7 separate regions of the Homo sapiens genome follow, and all the other regions are linked to region 1. Evidence: promoter capture Hi-C in 16 types of primary human blood cells and fetal thymus (Javierre and others, 2016). All regions are on one chromosome and are shown on one strand. Each heading gives the region's core, a stretch centred on a gene start or on the middle of the fragment in contact. The rest is flanking DNA. Distances are from core to core; before and after follow the strand shown.

Region 1 (3,541 bases), core at 368-2,867:
TTAAAAACTGGTATTTTGAAAGAAATTGGTATTTTTAAGAGCTTTTGTCTCGGCATATTTCAGAAATGGATGCAATCAATATTGCAAACTTAGAGGCTGAGTTCAAAATTGCAGTGACTCAACAGAAAAAAAAACTTAAACATTATGTTACAACAGAAAAAAAAGTTTTTATATAAAAATGGCAATTTAAGGTTGCGATTCAACTTTTAACTTAGTAGGAAACTAGTATTGAGGCTACTTTGGTAGTCTTAAAACCATATAGGGGAGTTTGTAATACTGGATGGAGCCCAAACATGATCATGTGCAAAACCTCAAAAGTAATATAAGATTTACCCCTGCTTTATATAGGACTGTTCTAGAATCACCAATTTCAACCCATCTAATACAGTGTTTACACTGTGAAATGATTCCAAATAAAAATACTTTACCTGGAAAGTAGTTCTTTTGGTAACTTTTGGACTCTTTGTATATGCCAAAGTGGTGCTAAAAACTTCATCAGACATAGTGTATTTTTTCTCGTTACCTTTATAAAATAGCTAATTATTAGAATTCAACTTCTGATAGTAGCTGAAATATACAAAACAAATCAGACTTCGCATGCTTCAGAATTTATTTTATTACATTTGATTCTACTCTCCCCACAAAGGTCAAAGAAAAGCATCTGATATGAACATTGGGCTACATCTTCACTTAAAAAGGTTCTTGTAAAGAAATAGCAAATTCTCATAACAAGCTTGTTTAAAAAAATTCAAATGGAAGTTATCCTAAAATAGTTTTGCAACTACTTAAAAAGTCTGCAAATAAATGATTACAAGTTAATACGACAAAATGCTGCCAATTAAAATAGAACACCTTATTTTTCACCTCTCTTCTAAAGTATAACATTGCCTTCAAAATAAGTCACGTCTTATTTAAAAGGCCATCAAAAGGATCGTCGGCGTAAAAATTATGAGCACCACCACCAAAAAAAAAATGTATCTATATATTTGCATACAGCGCTATTCAAAGAAAAAGATCGTAATGCTAACCCGCAAACAGCCAGCGAGATGTATTGCAAGCCAATTTTTCCTCTCACAAAAGTGTTAAAGAGAGCCAGACAAAACGACGAAGCTTTCGCGATGAGCCGCATTAAAATCGCGGTTTCCCGTACTCGGAGCAGAGGCCTGGCAGGGCCGCCCATAGCGTTGTGCGCCCCGGGTTCCGTTCCCTACCAGGCCAGGTGACGTCCGGGTGCTCGCCGCTCCTCACCGCGCCGTATGCTGAGCACCAGCGAACGCCAGGCCCGTGCACGTCCAAGCGCGGTCTCTGTCCGGATCCCCCATGGCCCCCAGGTCCCGCTTTCTGTTCCCGGCCCCGGACGCCCGCGGCCAGTTCTCCGCGACCCTGAGAATCAAGAGCCAAGCATCGGGTAGGAGCTGCTCACCTTGGTCTGGGCCTGGCGGCGCCCGCAGAGCCGGTCCTGGACCGAGCGAGGAGGAGGGGCTAATAACAGAGGCGGAGGGCGGTTGCTAGGAAACAGCGTCTTCGGGAGGAAGTGACTTCCCCACCGCCGGGTCTCTCGGGTACCCAACACCGCTCTTCGGCCCAACGTGTCGCTGGGGCAACCACCCAGACGAAGGAAGTGACATCACCTTCCTGGGTCTTTGGAGAGGGGCTCATTATTGGTCGCTTGTGTGCATGTGCTGTTGCCTAGGAGACAGGACCCGCCCAACTCCCACCCAGATAGCCTTACTCTTGCCAATAGAGTAAGGGTCCTTATCTGCACGTGTTGCAAATAAAGCACATTCGTCGTTTTGCCACAGTTAGGACGTGAAGTTCTCTGAATCGAAGTACGGTGTCAGTGGATGGGACAGAATAGTACGGTAGTGAGTTTGCAGAACCCTGTTTCCGACTGCAGGTTTGAATCCTGGTACCCCTTTCCTACACACGTGATTGTCCCAAGTTAAGGTCTTTATGACTCAGTTTCTTCTTCTGGGGGAAAACAAAAGTGTACTAATAATAGACACCTGAAAGGTTGCTGTAAAATTGAATGAAATAATACAAGTGGAACACTTGGAAGAGTGCCTGGAATTGTATTCGATATTAGATATGCTCTTCATGCAACTAAGCCGCAAAGGGCCTGGAGAGACCTCAGCTCTTGTGGACACAACTGAAAGCCCATTTGACATCTTACTTGAATGTAAAACTCCCCCTCTTTGTATACTTAGTGAGTAATCTTATTCCAATCAAACCAAACAAAATGATCCACTAGGCTAAAAGAGCATGTGCTACTAAAGTAAACAAAATCAACATCATTTAATTCGCATAGGAAATTCTTAAAGCAAATAAAAACCAAAAACGTTTATTGAAAGTCTTTAAAATAATATGAATTTTTACTATTTTTAATTTTTAAAAAGCTTAATCCTAGTTGAATTATCTGAATGAATTCATTGACTAGTAATTAAACTCATACCTGGTATTTTTTCCACATCTCTAAAATATGTTAATATTTCACTAATTCAATTTTGTATAAACAAATCACATTGAGATAGAAATTTAATAAATCAATGTATTGAAAAACTAAATGTGCATAACAAGAAATAAGAAATTTAGTAAAATACAATGCTGTATTAATCAGGGTTCTCTAGATGGACAGAACTAATAGTATATATATATTATATTATATATATTATATAATATATTATATATATAATATATATTATATAATATATTATATATATATGTCCACTCATCTGTATCCATTTATGAAGCTGAAAATGTACACCACCTCTACACACACATACCCAGAATAGAAAATGCTCCCTATTTTCTATTAACTCATGGCACTACTGTTGAACCCTTCCAGGTTCACCTCATGCTCCTGGAACCTCCTTTCCACTGTAAAACATTCTCTCACTTTTTCCTCTATAATCGCATTCTTATCTTAGCTAAGCAAAACTATTTTCTGAATAAACTATCTCCCTGAGGGCTTTTCAAATAGGGACTGCTGTAGAAGGAAGATTTCTAAGTTCTCCTAGGTCCTCACATACTCAGTGACTGCTCTCCTATTACTCCAAACCCTTCCTCCTCACAAGCCAATATTCTATGTTCTATTTCTCAGTTTCTGTCATCAATAGATATATAGGCCCTTCTCCCACATTCACTGAATATCTACAGCCAACCTATCCAATACCTGAGATCACACCAAGGTATGGTGTGGCCATGTTCCATTCAATAGAATTCTTTGCTCAATACTCCAAGACTTTCACTTGTCCATACCCCTAATTGTGGGGCTCCGTACTGGAAGTCTTAAACTGTAATACTCCACTCCAAAAGGCCCATGGCTTCCTTTTTTAGTTATTCTTCTCTTGTTATTTCTATTTAGGAACTCATCAAGACATCTAGACTCTTTTTTTTTTTTTTTACTTTTTCTTTCTTTCTTTTTTTTTTAATGCATGTATCTCATCTAAGATGTCCAGACTCTTGAGCTTTTCACATCTTCCCCCAATTTATCAGTTGCTCTCTTTGCTTCCTGCTTCCCTTTCCTAGCTAGCCCAAGTCC
Region 2 (3,509 bases), core at 300-2,799, 420 kb after region 1:
TTTTAGCTGGCTTTCAGGTTGTTCACTATACAAGTGTGCTTGGCTAAGAAGGCAGAGCCCACAAGTGCTTTTTTTTTCTAATTCTACCAAAGAGACCATATAGGATACTGGGGAACTGATACCAGATTTGTAATTTTACAATGATTATTCAATCTTCAAATTTTATAGATCAAAGTCCAGAAATATTTTCCTATTTTAGACATATGGAGTATTTGCATATATGTTTTGAATTTTTGTAATTAATCTTCTAAATGCAGTATTCATAACTCATTTTTTATATTTAGGTATTTTTATTAAACTGAAATGAAGACAATTCATGCCATTTCCCCCTTTGATATCCAGGTTATTCAGCAAAGAAATGAAGAATGTGATCATACTCAATTTTTAATTGAAGAAAAAGAGTCAAAAGAAGAGGATTTTTATGAAGATCTTGACAGATTTGAAGAAAATGGTACCCAGGAATCACGCATCAGCCCATATACATTCTGCAAAGCTTTTCCTTTTCATATAATATTTGACCGGGACCTAGTGGTCACTCAGTGTGGCAATGCTATATACAGAGTTCTCCCCCAGGTAAAATGACAGCATACTTCCTTGGGGCCTGAGACAAAAGCCCATAGAAATACTATTGTTACAGGCAGCCATCCATTCATTTAACCCTCTGACTATGTATTAGGTAATATGCAGTTTATTGTAAGTTACACAAATTGTTTAATTGTGAACTAAGTGTATTTGAGCATACCACAACTTTCCCTAGGACAACTATTTTTTTATAATAATCACATACAGAAACAGTAGGAATGTTATGTAAGAATAGTATACTTGTTACAGTGAAAAAAAATGGGTAACTTTTTAGTAACAGTCACCTTTCACATGTTTATTTATTCACTGAATAAATATTCATTGGATATCTACCATCTGTAAATAGCTTTAAAAATCAACTATTGATGGTGTTAAGGGAAAAGGGGGGATTTTAAAAAGAACTAAAACACAAAATGATAGAGATGATGATGGATTCAGTAGAAAAAGCATCAAAGGAAGCAGTTGGGATGATGATGAGAAACTGCTGTTGACTTCTATGACAGATCCATTGGTAAAATCCTTTATGCTTACTCTTTTTTTCTTAAATACTAACTTTTGGAGTTGTATATGGCATACGTTTAGAGATACTTTTTGCTTGTAATTAAAGAGACTTGAAAATTCAGGATTAGCCCAGTTGGATCAGGTGAAATGGAAGCAGAGTAGTGTGCTGTCCTGGCTCTGGTATTGACTCTACCTGTCCCTTACTGTATGACCTTGAACTTATTACTTCACTTCTCTCAGCCTGTTTCTCTTTGTTCTGGCATGAGAATAGAAAGCATATGAAAAATACTTAGTTCATTGTAAGCAATCAATCAGTGTTACCTATTGTTTTCACTTTTAGCCCTCTAGATAAATATTAAGAGAGGGTTTGCTCATGTTTTTGGTATTTTAATTTCATTTCAAGCCATACACATTTAACATAACACTGTACATTTTAAAAGATAAATTTTCATTTTTTCTCCTTCTGAAAATGCATTGTAAATTTATGCTAGCTTACATTTGAATATTAGTCATCTGAATCCATATCAGATTTCATGTTCTTGTAACTATTTAATGTCCATTTAATCACTGAGTTGTATAGATTGAGATTTGAGTTGATAGTTCAGCTAAGTTTCCCTTGAATTATAATAATTATAATTTTCTAGTTTTAAATATAACTGAGCTGATTTAATCAAGCGATTAATATCAAAGTATAAAAACTATTTTAACTGATGTGATACTCTTTGCTCTCTATCTATATTTTAGCTCCAGCCTGGGAATTGCAGCCTTCTGTCTGTCTTCTCGCTGGTTCGTCCTCATATTGATATTAGTTTCCATGGGATCCTTTCTCACATCAATACTGTTTTTGTATTGAGAAGCAAGGTAATCAAGATATTATTTCATTAAATGTGAGAAAGGTATGTCACAAATTAGAAGTATTCAGGGGGGAAAATTATCACATTCTCTGAGAAAGTATAGAGAGATAAAACCCAGACCTCAAAGGAAGATCTATTTAAAAGGCAATAACATTGATTTTTGGTTTGCCTGAGGAGCAGTGGAACTCTATCAACTGATTAAAATTAACAGAGGTAAATTTTAGAGACTGTCTTTCTGAGACGGCCTTGTTTCACATCAAAAAACCAACATCTTTTACTCCCTGTACAGCTACAGTGCCTTATTTTAGAAATCAGAACTAAAAAGGATTTTTTTTTTTGGAACTTCACTCAAAACCACTTATTTATTCTTTCTTAAATTGTCTATTGTTCTTAGTAGCGTTTTTGTGGGTGAATAAAAGTGATGAAATATTCACACAGTTGATAATTTAGATAGTGCTGGGATCTCACGGTTTCTGTTCTTGGGATAGATACAGCAAAAGTCATTTTCCTAGAGTACCCATTGAATCCTTTCTGTATTTGGAACTGACTGTTTGCAGCTGCTCTATGAATACAGGGTGGGAGAATGGGGAGGCTTGGCTTATTCTTTGAGAGTCTGGTAATGTATGTTGGAACCATACCGGAAAATCAGGGGGATAAAAAAGATTCACAAAAGCTTGAAATAATTATGTGAAGAGTAGCACAGTTACTGTCCTGAATTCAGACGGGACAGTCACTTTTCTGCAGTGTTGCAAGGCAGCCACTAGGCTTATTACAGGCAGAACTCTGACAGAAGGCCCTCTCCTGTTCTAATGATGCACTTATTCTGCTTTGTGGTTTGGTGGGAAATGAGATATGCGTGTCCTTGTTGCTGAATTCTTAGGTAGGGAGAAAGGCATTCATTAATGGTTGTATCTTGCCTTTTCAAGGAAGGATTGTTGGATGTGGAGAAATTAGAATGTGAGGATGAACTGACTGGGACTGAGATCAGCTGCTTACGTCTCAAGGGTCAAATGATCTACTTACCTGAAGCAGATAGCATACTTTTTCTATGTTCACCAAGGTAATCATTTTTAGATTAATTATAGTGGCTATCAGTACCTATCTTTAGCTAACAAAGGAATGCCACAATATTTTATTCCATTAAATTTACATATTCTCTGAGGTGTAATTAGATTTTACAGCCCTTGTTGTGTATTACTTTATAACAAGGATAATCTTATTTAATATTTGCTAATAAACTCAGAAGAAATCACATACTCTATGTTATTTGCCATGTCTTAATACATTTGTGGAGTGTTTATGCCATTACGCCATGGGACAAATAATCTGCATTAAGCTAATTCTATAGTTTTGGACCTTCAAAATAGGCATTATGTAGAAAAGTGATTTTTTAAAGCAGCTAATAGGATGGCATAATAAATACATTGGTATATTTGACATCAAAAATTATCTTTTCTATAGTATGTTAGCAAAAAATCTAAAAGGTCTCTTTCTGGGTTTGAACTATTTTAAATTAAAAATATTTACCTACTCTAATCCAAATACACTGTTCCAAATATATTATTCAATTAA
Region 3 (3,233 bases), core at 196-2,695, 300 kb after region 1:
CCAGTTATATAGTCAAATAACTCTCTTTGAAGTTGACATTCCTTTGTGTGACTTAAGAGAGTATACTGAGACAGACTTGGTCAAATTCCTCCCTGAAATGAGTCTCCACTTTCTGCAGAATAGATGTCAAGTAACTGCTATTAAAAACAAAAGGAGATAACTAGGTTAGTTGACAAGGATAGGTTCCTGTGACCTCTCCTTATCTTGTAGATAACAGCACTTCACATTTTGAATGCTTGCATGCCATGTTTTTAATCATCTCTTTGGAATAGTACCTGCAATTAATGTCCAGCTCTCTAAATTATAGCTGATGGAATCCACCTTCCCAATTTTGAAAATTGAGGCAATGGTTGGACTCTGTCAACACTTCTCTTCATCACAATATTTTTAAAGATGACTTTAACAATTCCTTTATTTTATCCACACATGCTTTCAATATTTTGTAGTGTAATTTCTCCAAATTAATGGATTTAAACTCATTTAGAATATTTGCTATCATTCTACATGCTGGACCTTTGTTATTTTTAGTTTTGTTCTACTTTTATAAGTATGGATATTGTTTTCTTAAGGAATGGATATGAAACAAAACAAGAGCAGAGTAGTTCTGCCTGTTTGTTCATGTACTGTGATTTGAATATCTTTATCCAGTGTGCTCTTCCTATATCTAATAAAAATGCCATTATCACCACTTTATCTGGCAATCATAGCAAGAATTAAAAGGACATTTTTTCTTTTTTTTATAAGCTTCAACTTATTTTATGTCTTATATTTTATAACACTCTTCTTAGAGACTCAGCCACTATTTTGTACTTCTCTCAATAAAGTTTATTATGGATTATGCTTGTCACTGAGGAAGATACAAAGCAAAGTTTATGACACACACTCCTTGACTTGAAGGAATTTAAAGTCTGCATGAACAAAACCAAGAAATAGTCTCAGAATTATACATGTCAGCACTTAACAATGAGCATAATATTTGTAGAATAGTTTTAATAAGTTTTAAAGAAGTTAGGAGAAGGAAGAGAGTTCGGTATGATGGAAATATTGAGTAAGGCTTTCCAGAGGAAATCTAAGACTTAGCTGAGGTTTTAAAACAAGATCAGGATGTTGGACATCACAGGACCTGTAGGATTTAAATGTGGCAAACAGTAGGAAGAGTATTCTAGACAGAGGAAAGGAAAGGATTCACTGCAGGGATCAGATGTGTGTGTGGGTGTGCATGTGTGTGTTTGATGTGTGTGTGTGTACCCTGTGTGTGGCGGAACGGGTAATGCTGAGCCTTCCCAGGCCATAGCTTTGAAGTATTTATTTGTGGAGAACACCACTTTTCCATTTCTAGCTTTTCGTTTCCCCTTGTTCAATCTTTGTGGGGCCCACACCTACACATCTTGTAGATCTCAAACTAAGCTCTGCTTCTTAAAACCTTTCCCTGAACTTCCAAGCCTAAATTGCATGCCTTATTATGTTTTCCTGTAACACATTGTGCTTCCTTTGTAGAATTATTATGATATGAATAATTACTTGCTGAATTTTTACTATTATACTGATACTTGTGGAGAGAGGTACCATTTCTGTTTAGTTCCCCATTTTATACACAGTCATCTAATACAAGTGCTCAATGGCTCATAAGCACTCAGTGAAAACGTGTGCTATGGCCGGGCGTGGTGGCTCACGCCTGTAATCCCAGCACTTTGGGAGGCCGAGGCGGGTAGATCACAAGGTCAGGAGTTCAAGACCAGCCTGGCCAAGACAGTGAAACTCCGTCTCTACTAAAAATACAAAAAATTAGCCGGGCATGGTGGTGGGTGCCTGTAATCCCAGCTATTCGGGAGGCTGACGCAGAGAATTGCTTGAACCCAGGAGGTGGAGTTTGCAGTGAGCCAAGATTGCGCCACTGCACTCCAGCCTGGGCGACAGAGCGAGACTCCATCTAAAAAAAAAAAAGAAAGAAAGAAAGAAACAAAGAAACAAAGAAAACATGTGCTATCATGAGCCTACTTGGAACAGTGAAGTTATGTGGAGAGTACTTGTAAAAAAAAAATGTTTAAAATAAAGAAGGGTTAGATTACAAGTCCAGCATCTTCGTTCTTTATATGCTTATTCTAACAGATTTTTTCTATTTTTAAAATTTATTTCTTTTTACATCTTAAGCTTTTTTATTAAAAATAAAGACAAAAACACACACCTTAGCATGGACCTACACAAGGTCAGGATCTTCAGTTTCACTGTCTTCCACTGCCACATTTCTCACTGGAAGATCTTTAGGGACAATAACAAGCATGGAACAGTCCTCGCCTATGAATACAATGCCTTCTTCTGGAATACCTTCTGATGAAACTGCCTGAGGCTGTTTTACGGTTAACTTATTTTTATAAGTAAAACTAGTACCCTCTAAAATAACAATAAAAGGCATAATATAGTAAATACATAAACCAATAAAATAGTACTTTATTATCACTATCGAGTTTTATATACCGTAGGTAATTGTATGTACTATGCTTTTTATATGACTGGCAGCACAGTAGGTTTGCCTGCACGAACATCTCCACGAGCATTTCAGTTATGCATTGTGCTATGACATTACAATGGCTATCAGTCACTAAGGAATGGGAATTTTTCAGCCCCATTATAAACATATGGGAACATGATTGTGTATGTGGTCCATAGCTGACAGAAACATTGTTATTTGGCACGTGACAGTATATGCACTGGAATTTTTAGCTGCTTATTTTTCTCCATTTGCAATATCACTTTGCAGCTTCAAATATGCTCATTATAAGCAGTTAAATGATATGTGGTTTTTATTACATTATTAAGTTAATAAAATAAGTGACAAGGAGTTTCAGTATTCCATAGTATAACATAAACTTTTAAATTGTGTATTTGTGAGCATAAAGTTATATCAAGATCTTTAGCACTATATATGAAGTATTTAGAGAGTTACAAATGTAGCATTGAAGGAAATTTGGGTAAATGCAATAAAATTGTCAGTACATGAGTTGTAAAGCAAGATATCCATATATTAGATTAGCACTATACATTTGTAAATATGATTAGCAAAAGGCAGGCTTCCCAGCGAAAACAAACGTCTTTGGGTAAAATTCTATTTCTTTTAATGTTTTAAAATATTTGTAGTCACTAATTGTAAGTCATATTCCTCTTTGTCCAGCTCTATCCCAAATAACAATTTAATACACCGCAGCATCTATTTCTGCTTATTTTCTGTGTCACTG
Region 4 (3,487 bases), core at 593-3,092, 440 kb after region 1:
TCTTCCTTGCTACTTATACCGTATCAAAGAGAAGAAATATAGTGTGAGTTAACAAAACAAAATTTAACAAAAAACAAAGCACCGTACAGAGAATCAAGAACCTGAGTCCAATTCTGGTGAGGAAATCTTGTGGCCTTTACAAGTCACTTAACTTTACAACTCAGTTACCTCATCTGAAAAAAAGGAGCTGGTTAAGGTGATATCCAAACTAAATTATTGCTCCAAAATTCCATCATTTCGTTGGTAACAATTCCAGGGTTTTTGTATCAGAAGCATTCTAACCAAAGTGACTCCATCTTTACAGAGGCTGGGTAAAATGAGGCTGAGACCTGCTGGGCTGCGTTCCCAGGACGTTGGGCATTCTTAGTCACAGAATGTCTACAGTTAAGGGAATAGGTTAATAATGTTTACCAAACAGACCCAGGACTTAACAGACCCAGGAAATGTCCAGGTGTCCCAATATCTTAGGAATAAATGTATTCTTAATTTAAGAATACGTTTTGCTTTAAAGATAATAATACAGATTATTGTAGAACAGTAGTTAAGCAAATACTCAGCTGATAAAACACCATGCAGTAAAGAAGCAGGCCGAAACCCACCAAAACCAAGATGGCAGTGAAAGCCACCTCTGGTCATCTTCACTGCTCATTATATCCCAATTATAATAAATTAGCAGTTTAAAAGATGCTCCTACTAGCGCCATGGCAGTTTACAGATGCCATGGCAACATCAGAAGTTACTCTATCTGGTCTGAAAGGGGGAGTAACTCTCAGTCCTGGGAATTCTCCACTCCTTTCCTGGAAAACTCATGAATATTCCACCCCTCGTTTAGCATTTAATCAAGAAATAATCATAAGTTTACTCAGTCCAGCAGCCATGCCACTGCTCTATGGGGTAGCCATTCTTTTACTCCTTTACTTTCCTAATAAAGTTGTTTTCACTGTACTCTGTGGATTCACCTCAGATTCTTTCTTGGATGAGATCCAAGAACTCTCTCTTGTGGTCTGGATCAGTACCCTTTTCCAGTAACTCTTGTGCTAGGATTTTGGCCTGAAACTTTTGGGAATACAATCTAAAGTTTTGACAATCTAGTAGTGTTGAATAGATCAACCGAAAGACTGAAAGCTAACTTCCAAGAAATAAACAAATCTGAGGTAAACACTTGGTGAGGACTTTTGACTCCAAGCTAAAATCAAAATGACTAAGGTCCTGATTAGTGTATATGAGTATTAATGTTATGTATGTCTACTAAAAATGTGCCCTATAATATTTAATTATGTTAGCTAAATTTAAGTGTTTAATAAACAGTCACATTCTTGATGACCTGAAAACAAGGAGAGAATGTATGTCTCTATTTCAATTATATGTACTCACACAATTGCTGTGGTACAGTCTATCCCAAATAGGGCTTAAATATAGGGGCCAGTCATGGTGGCTCACGCCTGTAAACCAGCACTTTGGGAGGCCAAGGCAGGTGAATCACTTGAGGTCGGGAGTTTGAGACCAGCCTAGTCAACATGGTGAAAATGTCTCTACAGAAAATACAAAAATTAGCCGGATGTTGTGATGGGCACCTGTAATCCCAGATACTCGGGAGGCTGAGGCAGCACAATCACTTGAGCCTGGGAGGCGGAGGTTGCAGTGGGCTGAGATCACTACTGCACTCCAGCCTGGGCGTCAGAGCAAGAATCTGTCTCAAAAAAAATTACAGGTAAAAAATATCAGTGAGTATTACATATAGGTTGGGGTTTTTAAAATGTTATTCTTATGAAATATATTTCCCAATTATGTAAAGTAGTGACCACAGTTGCCTACCAAACAGTTTTAGATCATTAGGGGGAAAGGAGTCACATAAAATTAAAGTATTAACTTAGAAAACACTTTTAAACTGTTGTAAATACTGTCCCTTTTGTGGTTTTCTGCATCACATGAATAAATGTCAATATATTAATAATTTTTATATACCCATGAATATAATACCATCATATTGTTCTGGACAACAACAGTACCTAAATCTGACACTGTGACTACATACAGTTTTAGATGTACTAGTACAAATAACGTAATCAAAGATATTTTGTTTATTTTTGTGTAAAAATCATTACAGTCTAAGGCAGGCATGGGTGAAATCAGCGACTGAGTCCTCTGCTCCCGGGCAACTGGGGCTCTGAAGAGGGGGGGTCAGGGGAGTCCCCTGAGAAGTTTGTGTCCTGGAATCCAAGACAAGGTGAGGGCAGGGCCTGAAGAAAATACAAGTCTCAGGAAATATGTAGATTTCAAATTGATCTGACAAAAAACCCTAGTGGTCTGTCCAAAGAAGCCAGTAGCCAGAAGAAGCATTACAGGCAGGAAGCATTATGAAGTTAAGTGTGTCTGGTGTTGGAAGCCTTTTGCACAGTGCTAGTTTGTGTGTGCAGTGGTGATTTTGGCACCTGTTTAATAATTGTATATCCTCAATCGCAAGTATTGGACAGGATATTGAATAATGGGAGGTTGCAATTTCTTAATGTGTTAGTATAACTATTTTTTCCTCTAAAGCACAGTGTTTTTAAGTCTGTTTAGAAAACTTCCAGGCGCGGTGGCTCATGCCTGTAATCCCAGCACTTTGGGAGGCCGAGGTGGGCGGATCACGAGATCAAGAGTTTGATACCAGCCTGACCAACATGTTGAAACCCCGTCTCTACTAAAAATACAAAAATTAGCTGAGCGTGGTGTCACGTGCCTGTAATCCAAGCTACTCAGGAGGCTGAGGCAGGATAATGGCTTGAACCCAGGAGGAGGAGATTGCAGTGAGCTGGGATAGCGCTACTGCACTCCAGCTTGGGCGACAGAGCGAAACTCCATCTCAAAAAAAAAAAAAGAACACTGCAAGGGTAATGTCTAACAGCATGGTTTAATAGTAATACAATGTGAGGCCCAAATATAAGTCACATATGACATGGATTTTTAAATTTAAAAATTTCTAGTAGCCACACTTCAAAAGGTAGAAACCAGTGAAATTGACTTTAATAATATGTTTTATTTAACTCAGTATAAGCAAAATATGATCATTTCAACATGTAATACATTTAAAATCATTAATTAAATATTTAAAATCAGTGTGTATTTTAAAATCAGTGTGTATTTATACACTTTAAAATCAGTGCGTATTTATACACTTTAAAATCAGTGCGTATTTATACACTAAAATCAGTGCGTATTTCTACACTTTAAAATCAGTGTGTATTTATACACTAAAATCAGTGCGTATTTATACATTTTAAAATCAGTGTGTATTTATACACTTTAAAATCAGTGTGTATTTATACACTAAAATCAGTGTGTATTTTTACACTTTAAAATCAGTGTGTATTTATACACTAAAATCAGTGTGTATTTATACACTTTAAAATCAGTGTGTATTTATACACTAAAATCAGTGTGTATTTATACACTTTAAAATCAGTGTGTATTTATACACTTTAAAATCAGTGCATATTTATACACT
Region 5 (3,469 bases), core at 524-3,023, 400 kb before region 1:
GACTGAGACTTCACCAGACACCAATCCTGCTGGTGCTTTGGCCTTGGACCTTCCAGCTTCCAGAACTGTGAGAAAGTAATTTCTATTATTTTAAAATTACCCAGTTTCACATATTTTGTTATAGCAGCATGAATGAACTAAAATACCATCTCTTTTTTGAGATAATTGTACTTTTCGGAAAATAAAAAAAATTAAATATTTTTTGTCATCTTCTTCGTCTTTTCTCAAGTATATCTGCCTCACTGAGGACTACTCTGAATGTGCTCTCCTTCCTGGAACTTCTGGTTACTCTTACTTAGCTTTATTTTTCCTTCCCATTACTATAATTTCCTAATATATGTGATGAATTTATTACACTTATTGCTTCTTGTCTATCTGTGTGTGGAGAAGACAAGCTCTTCGAGGGAAGGAGTCTGTTTCATTCCATGACTCATCACTAGCACCTAGAACAGTGTCTTGTACTGAGTAAGGATTAATTAAGCATTGATTGAGTGAATGAACAGTAAGTATACATGCTCAGTATAGAAATTTGAAAAGTAAAATTTTATGGAAGGAAATAAAATCTCCTGTAATCTTAAGAGGTAACAGAATAACACTTCCATATATCCTGTTTCTTCGCCCATTCATCCTACTAACATGGTTAATAGAAGTTAGAAAACTACATGCTGAACCATCTTGGCCTTGCTGTTGCCCAGCCTCTTTAATTATCCTTCCTCAGGAGCCAGCTGTCTTGTGCCGTGATCTTCCTATCTCTCCTTATATTAGAATCAACTGTTTTTCTTCATTTTGGCCTCATAACACCCCTTCCAAACTGTTATCACACCATTGGTAGGATCTTTGTACCAATTTCAATTCGGACTCCGAGCATGGTGAATTATTAATTGGCTGGAAAAAATTGTGTGTATGCATGTGCTGTAATTGCTGATTTATTTACTCAAGAATAACTAAAAGTTGGGTTTATTACTTGCAATCAAGAGGTTTATTGACACTTTTGTAATTATCCTTTAGCCATTTCTCTGATTTTTCTCTTTGGATTCATAGAAAAAGAGATAACTACATGAAAGGAAATGAACCTGTTTTGAAACTTGATACATTTTACCGAACTCCTTTCCTATCAGGAAATAATACCAATAGCAATAATACTGGTATTATTACGAGCAGTTCATAATGCCGTCAGGAGTTTTTGACAGTTTCCTGTGTCAATCTCACTATACTGTTATTTTCAAAATTTGCCAAGTTGATAGGTAAAAAATATCTCATGATGATCTGAATTTGATCATTACTAATGAGATTAAATCTTTTCATCAGCATTAGCCTTGTGTATTTCTTTTTGAATTAATGCTCTTTGATCTTTTCTGTACTGGTAGGTTTATAGATATATTTAGGTATTAAAGCTTCTTATATACTAAGAATAGCAACTCTTGTATCTTATGTATGTTGCAACTGTTTGGTCTCAACTTGTTTGCCTTAAAATGTATGTATGGTTTCTGATACTGTCTTAGTTCAGGCTGCTATAGTATATTAGCATAGACAGAGTGGCTTAAACAATAAACATATTTCTCAGAGATCTGGAGGCTTGAAGTCCAAGGATAAAGAGCCAGTAAATCAGGTGTCTGGTGAGGGTCTGATTCCTGGTTTGCAGATGACCTTCTTCTTGCTGTAGTCTCATATGGAGGAGAGAAGAAAGAGAGAGAGAATTAGGGTGGGGTAGGGAGAGGGAGAAAGAGAAACAGAGAGAGAGAGAGAGAGATGCTCTGATGTCTCGTCTTACAAGGGCCCTAATTCCATCCTGAGGCTCCACCTTCATGACCTAATTAATTCCCAAAGGCCCCACCTCCTAACGGCATCACCTTATGGGTTAGGGTTTTGACATATAACTTCTTTTTGTTGGTAGGGGGAACCCAAACATGCAGTCTGTAACATATATTGTGTTTATGTTTAAATTTTCATGTTTAAATTTTGGGAAATTAAATTTATTAATCTTTTCCTTTGAGATTTTTCACAGAAAAATTACATATTTTGGCCTTTCCATGTAAGTTTCAAATGAAAAGAACTGGATTTGTGAGGAATTATTTTATTACTGGACAGAGCTGTGTTCTGTTTTGTCAATAAGAATGCTCGTCAGTATGTTATGTGCTACTGATTTCAAGGTAGAAGCTTCCTAAATACCAAACTGTATAATCTTTAATAAATTCCTATTAATATTTTCAAAACTTATATTGTGACTCTAGTAAATAGAAAGGCCATTTTTCCACTGTACCTGATTTTTTTTTTAATTTTTATTTTTTGAGACATAGTTTCGCTCTGTCGCCCAGGCTGGAGTGCAGTGGTGTGATCTCCACTCACTGCAGCTTCTGCCTCCCAAGTTCAAGCGATATTCTTGCCTCAGCCTCCCGAGTAGCTGGGATTACAGGCATGCACCACCATCCCCTGCTCATTTTTGTATTTTTAGTAGAGATGGAGTTTCACCATGTTGGCCAAACTGGTCTCGAACCCCTGACCTCAAGCGATCTGCCCACCTCATCCTCCCAAAGTGCTGGGATTACAAGTGTGAGCCACCACACCCGGTCCTGAATTGTTTAAAAATGCACATTTGATTATATCCATACCTGCCCCATTTAAGCTGTTCATGGATTTACCATCATGTTCAGGATAAAGCTCAAATTCCTACCTAGCATGTCAAATTCTTGATGATCTTGCACTTGCAGACCTCTCCAGGTCTTCTCTCCCAACATCCCTTCCTACTTCCACTTCATGCAGAACCACTTCTAATTACCTGAACACATTATTCTCCCTTTCTTTCTTTGGTTCCCTCTACCTGTAATATTTCCCCAGCCTAGCTAACTCCATCCTATGAGACACCTGCAATGCATTCTTTTCCAGACAAAAATTGGATACAGTAGTTCAGCCAGGTGTCCTATTTTATGCTAGGAATATAGTATCACTCTCTGAAACTCAGAGTTGCTGTATCAATCAAACCCGCTGGCTAATTATTTCCAGGGATGACAGCCAAATGTCAGCACTATTTATCTCAGTGTACTAAAATAGAAACTTGTCTTTAGTGGACGTGAGTGTCTTTAGTGAGAAATACTGAATGCCTTCACAATCTGGATCAATTCATTCAACTCCCGGGCATGGGCGTTAGAGGCAGCCGGCTCATCTTTGATAGAAAGGCAGGATCATGTAAAGCCCCGTAGGAGGCTGGAGTCCCACTGACGTTCTTTAAGTTTTGGGCAGTGAAATAGAAAAAGTTTCTCTTAAAAATTCCCAGACCTAGATGATTTCTCCTGTGCTACACGATGCAGAACTCTGAGGTTTCATGAAAGTATCTGAGCGAATTCAAAAATCATTTAAAGGACTCCATCCATAGGCAGCTCTGAGCTTTACTTTCATAGAGAAGTGTCTGAAATCTCAGTTTGGGGAACAAAATAAGGCACAGTGTCAAACTTTAACATTTGAATTTTAACTC
Region 6 (3,051 bases), core at 369-2,868, 390 kb after region 1:
ACTATTTAAATATAAGCTGTTTTCAAATAGACATTTCTTTTTCTCCAAGATTTATTGAGATATAATTGACAAATAAAAGTTATATATATTTAAGGTGCACAACTTCATGTTTTGATGTACATATACATTGTGAAATAATCACTGTAATCAAGCCAATTGCCATATTCATCACCTCACATAGGCACCCTCTTTTTTTGTAGTGAGAACACTTAAGACCTCCCCTCTTAACAAATTTCAAGTATTCATTATAGTATTGTTAACTGTAATTGTTCATTGTAATTGTTAATAGTGACATTGCTGTGCCAAATAAACATTTCTTATATCAGCAAAGGCAGAAGATAGAGCAATATAGCAATACATAATAGCAATTCCTTTTGGAAGTGTCAGAGTTCTTTTATGTTTTCTCATGTCATGTGGATGTATTGGAAGGACTAAGAACTCTATTGTTAGAATGACAATTTCATATGTCAAAAGACAATTACTAGATTGGATTCAGGACATGATTGAATCCTTTAGCAAGTTTCTAAAAGGCAGGGATGTGTGGTGCTGTTTAAAGTCAGTGTCATAGACTGTAACTCAGTGTTTAGAATACTGAAATTAAATTTGAAATCCAGCTGAGCTCTCACCATGTCATGCTATTTCGAATGTAATATGTCACGTATATTAAACACATACCATATGGTTCTGCAGTCACAGTCCTAGATGCTTTATACTCATTATCTCAGTTAATCCTCATCACCACCACAGAAAATAGATTCCTTCATTATCCTCATTTTGCAAATGAGAGAATAGAGGCGTAAAAGAAAGCCTGCCTCAAACACTCAGCTATTAATTATTAGAGCTGGGATTTGAACACAGATAAAGTTGTAATTATCATGTTATGTGTTTTCCTCCAAAGAGAAAGACCTATAACCTTCTTCTTTCCAAAGACAACCAATTTAGCAAGGACATGTGCCATGTTTATGTGTATTAGTACTGCCTGCTGCTTTTTCTTTTTTCTTGGAATGTTCAAGCATGCGTACAGGTGATTTTTGACAACAATATTTTTAAAGGCGAATTGACATGAAGCATATACACAAGTGTCTAAGTAAATTCATTTGTCTGTTAAAGCTGCTGAAAATGGCTCAGCAGCTCAAATGAAGATTTGTAAGTTTTGTGGATATGTTTTCAAAATTGGAGAAATTACCATTAAGGGTCTCTTGTGACTCAAAATTGGAGAAATTACCATTAAGGGTCTCTTCCTGACAATTGCATGTCAGGAAGAAACATGCAATTATGTATCAAGACTGTTGTTGTTTCCCCTAAAACTAAGGTATGGGTGTCACTCAGGAGAGTATTTATTGTTACTGTTTACAGTGATTGGATGAGTGAGTGAACACATTGACATGAAAGGACTGACCTTTACTAACTAAAAGGGGGTTCAGGCAGGAAGTCGTTACTGGATTTAAAGGGCCTGTCTCTCCACTTGGCAGCTCCCTCAAGCCAGAGTCTCTCCTTTGGGGTTCAGGCTTACTGAGAATCATTAGATTAGGCCATTGAAAACTTAGAGGCTATTCATGCTCCACAGCCACTTAGAAAAAAGCAATATAAAGTTTTACTTTTTTAGATGTTATATATAGTTACTATCCACAGTTTATAGTGGGAGATTTTAGTTTTAATAATGGTTGGGGACAATGCAACATTATGGTACCAATTCAGCTCACTACAATGGACCATTCTAGGATTTATTATCAAAACGACACCTACGTACTGTTTTTTAATACAGCATGTGTTCTGATAATGTTGTTTATGGGATCAATAGTATCTTGGAGCTGTCATTGGTCAGTTTGATTGTTTGATCCTGATTGACCTTTTCTGCCCAAGAGCAGACCTTGTGTTGAGATTATGTTTTCAACATGCCTGTGTTCAGGCTCTCCCATTTCAAAATACTCCATGGAAAACTTCTTTAACTGAAATATAGCAGTCTTGTCATATTCTTAACTTACTCTAAAAATGTACAGTAGCAGGAGCTCAGGGTCAGAATATGAATTCAGTTTTTCTGTGTTCACATATTGTAGTTAAGGAATATCTCCTTGTATGTGAAGTTATAAGAAATGTTACCTGGATATTTTGGACAAATTGTATACCTAGTTTTAAAAAATAAATAATAAAAAATATTCTTTAGTTTGAAAGCAAATGATGGACTTTTGTTAGTAATGTTTGATTACTTGTTTGTTTTTTTTTTTTTTTTTTGTAGGGAGCTTGGAAATGTGTGGGGAAATTGATTTCATTAATTCATTCACTAATTTTTAAACATGTATACCTTTATTAAGCACATGTGCACCTTTATTAAGCACATGTGCAATTCCAGGCACCTGGGTTAGGCACCAGTAATTACATTAAAGAAAAAAATCCCAACTTACCAAACACCACCACTATAAAAATACCAACTACCTCTTTGTGAAAAGGTAATTAGTATAAATAAAGGATCTGCTTAAATTCCAACAAATAAGAGTAAGTAGGAAGTTGATTGCTACTGGGAAACTATTTCACTTATACGTATTCAACTTCTAAACAGTTACTGTGGCTACAGATACAAAGAATGTGATTATTTCTGATTTTGTTGCCAGGTGAGAATTCGATCTTTATTTTTAAAGCCCTTAGGGGCAACAGAGCTTGTTTGTTTCTTGGCTATTTTAGTTTGTAAATTCTATCAGCAAATCTGCATACTAAGTGCACCTTAATTATTTGATTCTGACTAAAAATGACTAAGATTTTGTTGTCATTCTTCCCTTCTCTTCTTCCACTTGCCATTTCCTCTTTCTCCTTTTTCCCTTCTTCCTTCATCTTCTCCAACTACTATAACTTACCAGTTAGAGGAAGTATCAGGCATTAAGTGTGCAAGAAGTACTACCCTGAGATTTTTGCATAGGTTAATTCTGCTAACCAACACAATGACCGGAGGTAACTGCTGCTGTTAGCCTGTTTTACAGATGAGGAAATGAAACACCAAGAGTTGAATCTGCCCAAACTGCACATGGGATTGGCTTAGTTGTTTATTTTCCATACTGT
Region 7 (3,387 bases), core at 223-2,722, 370 kb after region 1:
ACCTGTTTTTCTAAGGTAGACTTGGTGGTTTAGGGATTAGTTCAGCTGGTTGAGTCCAGGACTGGATAAGATGGTGAGGCAGGGCATGACAGGTCAGTTTTGCAGGTTGGCCTCATTCTACTGCTTGAAGTCCTGTTGATAGTAACTGCAGTTAAATGCTATATAAGCCAAATTGAACAGATTTAGGCCCAGCTCTCCTGATCAGATTAATCAGAGTGCTGATGGACTGATGTATCCAAGGGAAAATTCTCCAGAAGACAAGATGGTGTAGAAACTAGGGGAGAATACTGTTGGGAGGTGGTCTCTCATATTTATGCATGTCTTATGAGCAGAGGTTCTGAGTGTCTTTGTTCTGCACTAGCTTTCCTGGGGTGTTTGTACAGCAAATCGTCTTGGAAGATAGAGATAGTATTTCTTTCTGGAGCAAGGGGCAGGCACGCTTACTGTTCAGTATAAAAGATTCATGTTCCCTAAGTTCAGGGTTCCTCTCTTGTGATGTAGCCTACTGCATGGACAGGCGTTACTTGGACCTCTTTTCATCACCCTGTGGACTTGGGACTCAAGAAACTGGCTACTCTGGCTATTGCTGTTGCTGTGAGTAATACATTCTTTACTCACTGACCCAGAAATCTTACGGTTTTTGCCAGCATTACAAAATGCAGCAGGCTAACTTATTAACTTCCAAGTAGGATCAGGTTATCATGCTAACATTTTTAAATCATATGATTTCACAAAGAAATCGAGATCACTCATTGTATGCAGCATCACTTGTCCCACAATGTCTCTACAATGAACCGTTGTCCCTGAGTGGGAGCTGCCTCATTTGGGTGGGGTAAATATTCATGATCTACTGCATTCCCCAACGCTCACTTTTACCTCAAATCCACCCAACCTGCCTCATCACTTTATATTACCTGCTGAGACCCATGGTCTTTGCATGCCTAGTTAGTACAGCAAACCTGCCCTATGAAAATTAATGATAAAACTAAGTGTGAATGTTCACTGTGTAAAGTCTGTCCTGTAGAGAATCCTATGTTCTGTAATAGGGTTCTATTAAATTACTTGCCTTTGTTCATATAAATGCGATTTGATTCATGGTCATAAGAACTGTATGTGGCTGTCAGGAATACAGTTTCTATAAAGTGAAGTTCACTTTAATACCGTTCTCCCACAATGCTGATATGCGATAGCTGTATGTATTTTGTGGATGACACAGTAGTGGTGGGTTTGCATCTGAGCTGGCCCAGTGACACTGACATTAATAGCCATGGGTTGAGTCCCCAGAGAGTCTTTCAGTCAGCAGTTCAGTAATTGTGACTCCTTCTGAGCCCTCTTTCTGATGATTTTGAGAGCAGGTAGAGTCTCAGCTCATACCTTTGCCTCCTGTTCACAGAAAGAGTAACACTCTTGAATAGAACCTGGTTTCTTCACACAAGGGCAAGGCACAGCCCCTCACCTGTTTGGATGGATAGAGTGTGGGATAAATAATTTACTCAGCTTCTTGCCCTAAGACGGATGTTCATGGAAGCAGAGTTATCATCACAGTAAGCAATCTTCAGCCTGCAAGGTCCTGAGCTGGTACTGTGTCTTTGAAAGTAGCCTAATCTTTCAATAAACAAACTCAAAATTTGAGTGACTCACAGGAGCAGTTCCTTTCTCACATATTATCTAAGGATGAGGGTGATGAGGGCTGAAGCTCCACCAGCCACTCATGACCTGGACCAACAGATCACTCTCATCTTCAATGTCACCTTGAGTATATATATCTACTGGGCAGTTGGAGAAGGAATCTTGGGGAGTATGTGTGGCAAATTTTTAAGTTCAGTCCTGGAGGACACACGTATTCCTTCTGTTCACATTCTCTTTCCTTGAACAAGTGACACAGCCAACCTCACTGCAAGAAAAGCTAAAAGAAGATTGGAATGATTTGCATTATCAGTACAATTCCTGCTACAAGTAATTTACTGAGAGCTAACTCAGTGTCAGGCAATGTTCTACACTTCATGGTACACATTATTTGAGAGTTTCACATAATCATGAGACTGAAAGTTTTTGTCTAGACTAGGCCCATCTTGAAGCCTGGGAGCAATGTAATCCTGAGTTTAAGTGACAGTAAAGGAAGAATCAATGTGGCAAGCCATCTGAGCCTGCATGGGGAGAGTCTGAAGTCCCCTCTTCGTGCTCCCAAATCAAGAAAACCCTGATAGTGCTCCATGGATTGTGTCCATCAATTACTGAGCCTGGTGAATCAGAGCTAGAATCCTTTAGCTACAGGTAAAGATGAAATACACCTGAGTTGAGAGCAATACATGCTCTACCTATTATAAACCTGAGTGGTTCCAGGTGGGAGAGGTAGAGCAACCCCCCCCCCCCCCCCCCGCCCACAAAAGGACATACCAAAATAAAGAGGACTTTTATCACCTGGCAAAGGCGGCAGGGAAATATCTCTTACTGACAGGTAAAAAAAAAAAAATGTGGATAGAGGGTGCCACTTCTCTTTGGCTGCAGTGTGGGATGAGAAGAGACTTCAGAGTTCCCGCCTATCTCCCATCTTTAGTTTAAGGGAGAATAAACCGAGTTCTGGACTATCAGTTCTTGCAATCTGGTTACCTCCCACCCTCCATTTCCATACCAATGGTAGCTTCTTCCCAGGAGGAGTTTTGCACTAAGAGCAGGAGTTTTGCACTAAGAGCAGGAGTTTGGCCATGCAGTTGCTAAAAGAAGCTCATTACTGTCACAGCTGGAAATAATCTGTGTGTAATTTCCTTATATTTGATTCCTGCTTAGGAATCTCAGGGAGTTCCCTGCACATTGGGTGCCATTTACTTTTCAACTTTGAGATCAGGTAAGAGAAAATCAGAGTACTATGAATTAGACTTCACCTGGAAACCAGACAGTGGACCTCTAAATGTGGCCCACCTGCTTGAGAGTCATTGGAGGGAGGGAGCACTTGTTAAAGTGCAGACTCCCGGAAACAACAACTTATTTATCAATTAAAACAGCAGAGTTGGGTTCCAGAGATCTGCATTTTAAAGAAATGCCCCAAGAGATATTTATCAGCATTTTCAATCCCAGGAGACTATTGCAGTACTTCCCTAAGGGTTGGGGTAACTCTATTAGTATTTGCCCACCGGATGGCAAGCTCTACTAATAGCTAACATTTCCATAACTTTGTGGATTGTTAGATAAGCATGTGAATTCATAATTTCCTTACTTCCTGGACCATGGACATATTTAGGGAGGCAGAGAAACACCAAGCTTCCTAGAACCCCTTCTATTTTGTTTGTTCCTGTCTCCTAGGCTCAATAGGTTAGAGCGACGAGTATGCATGATTCAGGACACTGAGGTAAGAACAGAAGAGATAGATATCCCCTAAAATGCCAGACC

Evidence for each region. Contacts are between HindIII fragments. The CHiCAGO score rates a contact against its expected background, and 5 or more counts as called.
Region 2: a contact is called between a fragment that was not itself captured here and the fragment with the promoter of MAP9 in region 1, in 3 of 17 cell types (fetal thymus, M1 macrophages and M0 macrophages). The highest score is 10.5, in fetal thymus.
Region 3: a fragment that was not itself captured here is called in contact with the fragment with the promoter of MAP9 in region 1 in 1 of 17 cell types (fetal thymus); the score reaches 7.7 in fetal thymus.
Region 4: a fragment that was not itself captured here is called in contact with the fragment with the promoter of MAP9 in region 1 in 1 of 17 cell types (fetal thymus); the score reaches 7.0 in fetal thymus.
Region 5: a contact is called between a fragment that was not itself captured here and the fragment with the promoter of MAP9 in region 1, in 1 of 17 cell types (endothelial precursors). The highest score is 6.6, in endothelial precursors.
Region 6: a contact is called between a fragment that was not itself captured here and the fragment with the promoter of MAP9 in region 1, in 2 of 17 cell types (fetal thymus and total B cells). The highest score is 12.6, in fetal thymus.
Region 7: a contact is called between a fragment that was not itself captured here and the fragment with the promoter of MAP9 in region 1, in 2 of 17 cell types (total B cells and fetal thymus). The highest score is 6.4, in total B cells.

What each region holds. Positions count from the first base shown.
Region 1 is chr4:155,375,348-155,378,888 of GRCh38, forward strand. MAP9 (microtubule associated protein 9) reads right to left here and starts at 1,618. Exons shown (of 14, transcript NM_001039580.2): 1 at 1,424-1,618; 2 at 429-567. The coding sequence starts at 503. RefSeq lists an enhancer at 1,071-1,500. The HindIII fragment of the contact is 1,286 bases long and covers 1,109-2,394 here.
Region 2 is chr4:155,793,514-155,797,022 of GRCh38, forward strand. It overlaps GUCY1B1 (guanylate cyclase 1 soluble subunit beta 1), which reads left to right. Exons shown (of 14, transcript NM_000857.5): 6 at 343-573; 7 at 1,828-1,944; 8 at 2,864-2,997. Among named protein-coding and RNA genes, the nearest start is that of GUCY1B1, 36 kb to the left of the region's middle. The HindIII fragment of the contact is 2,117 bases long and covers 492-2,608 here.
Region 3 is chr4:155,672,421-155,675,653 of GRCh38, forward strand. The region is part of intron 2 of GUCY1A1 (guanylate cyclase 1 soluble subunit alpha 1); the gene reads left to right. Among named protein-coding and RNA genes, the nearest start is that of GUCY1A1, 7.2 kb to the left of the region's middle. The HindIII fragment of the contact is 1,407 bases long and covers 743-2,149 here.
Region 4 is chr4:155,810,424-155,813,910 of GRCh38, forward strand. No RefSeq gene overlaps it. Among named protein-coding and RNA genes, the nearest start is that of GUCY1B1, 53 kb to the left of the region's middle. The HindIII fragment of the contact is 6,377 bases long and covers 1-3,487 here.
Region 5 is chr4:154,974,418-154,977,886 of GRCh38, forward strand. No RefSeq gene overlaps it. Among named protein-coding and RNA genes, the nearest start is that of RBM46, 190 kb to the left of the region's middle. The HindIII fragment of the contact is 763 bases long and covers 1,393-2,155 here.
Region 6 is chr4:155,766,243-155,769,293 of GRCh38, forward strand. All of the region lies in intron 2 of GUCY1B1 (guanylate cyclase 1 soluble subunit beta 1), which reads left to right. Among named protein-coding and RNA genes, the nearest start is that of GUCY1B1, 8.7 kb to the left of the region's middle. The HindIII fragment of the contact is 6,244 bases long and covers 1-3,051 here.
Region 7 is chr4:155,745,601-155,748,987 of GRCh38, forward strand. It overlaps LOC105377506 (a long non-coding RNA gene), which reads right to left. Exons shown (of 8, transcript XR_007058484.1): 4 at 3-132. Among named protein-coding and RNA genes, the nearest start is that of GUCY1B1, 12 kb to the right of the region's middle. The HindIII fragment of the contact is 3,568 bases long and covers 1-3,256 here.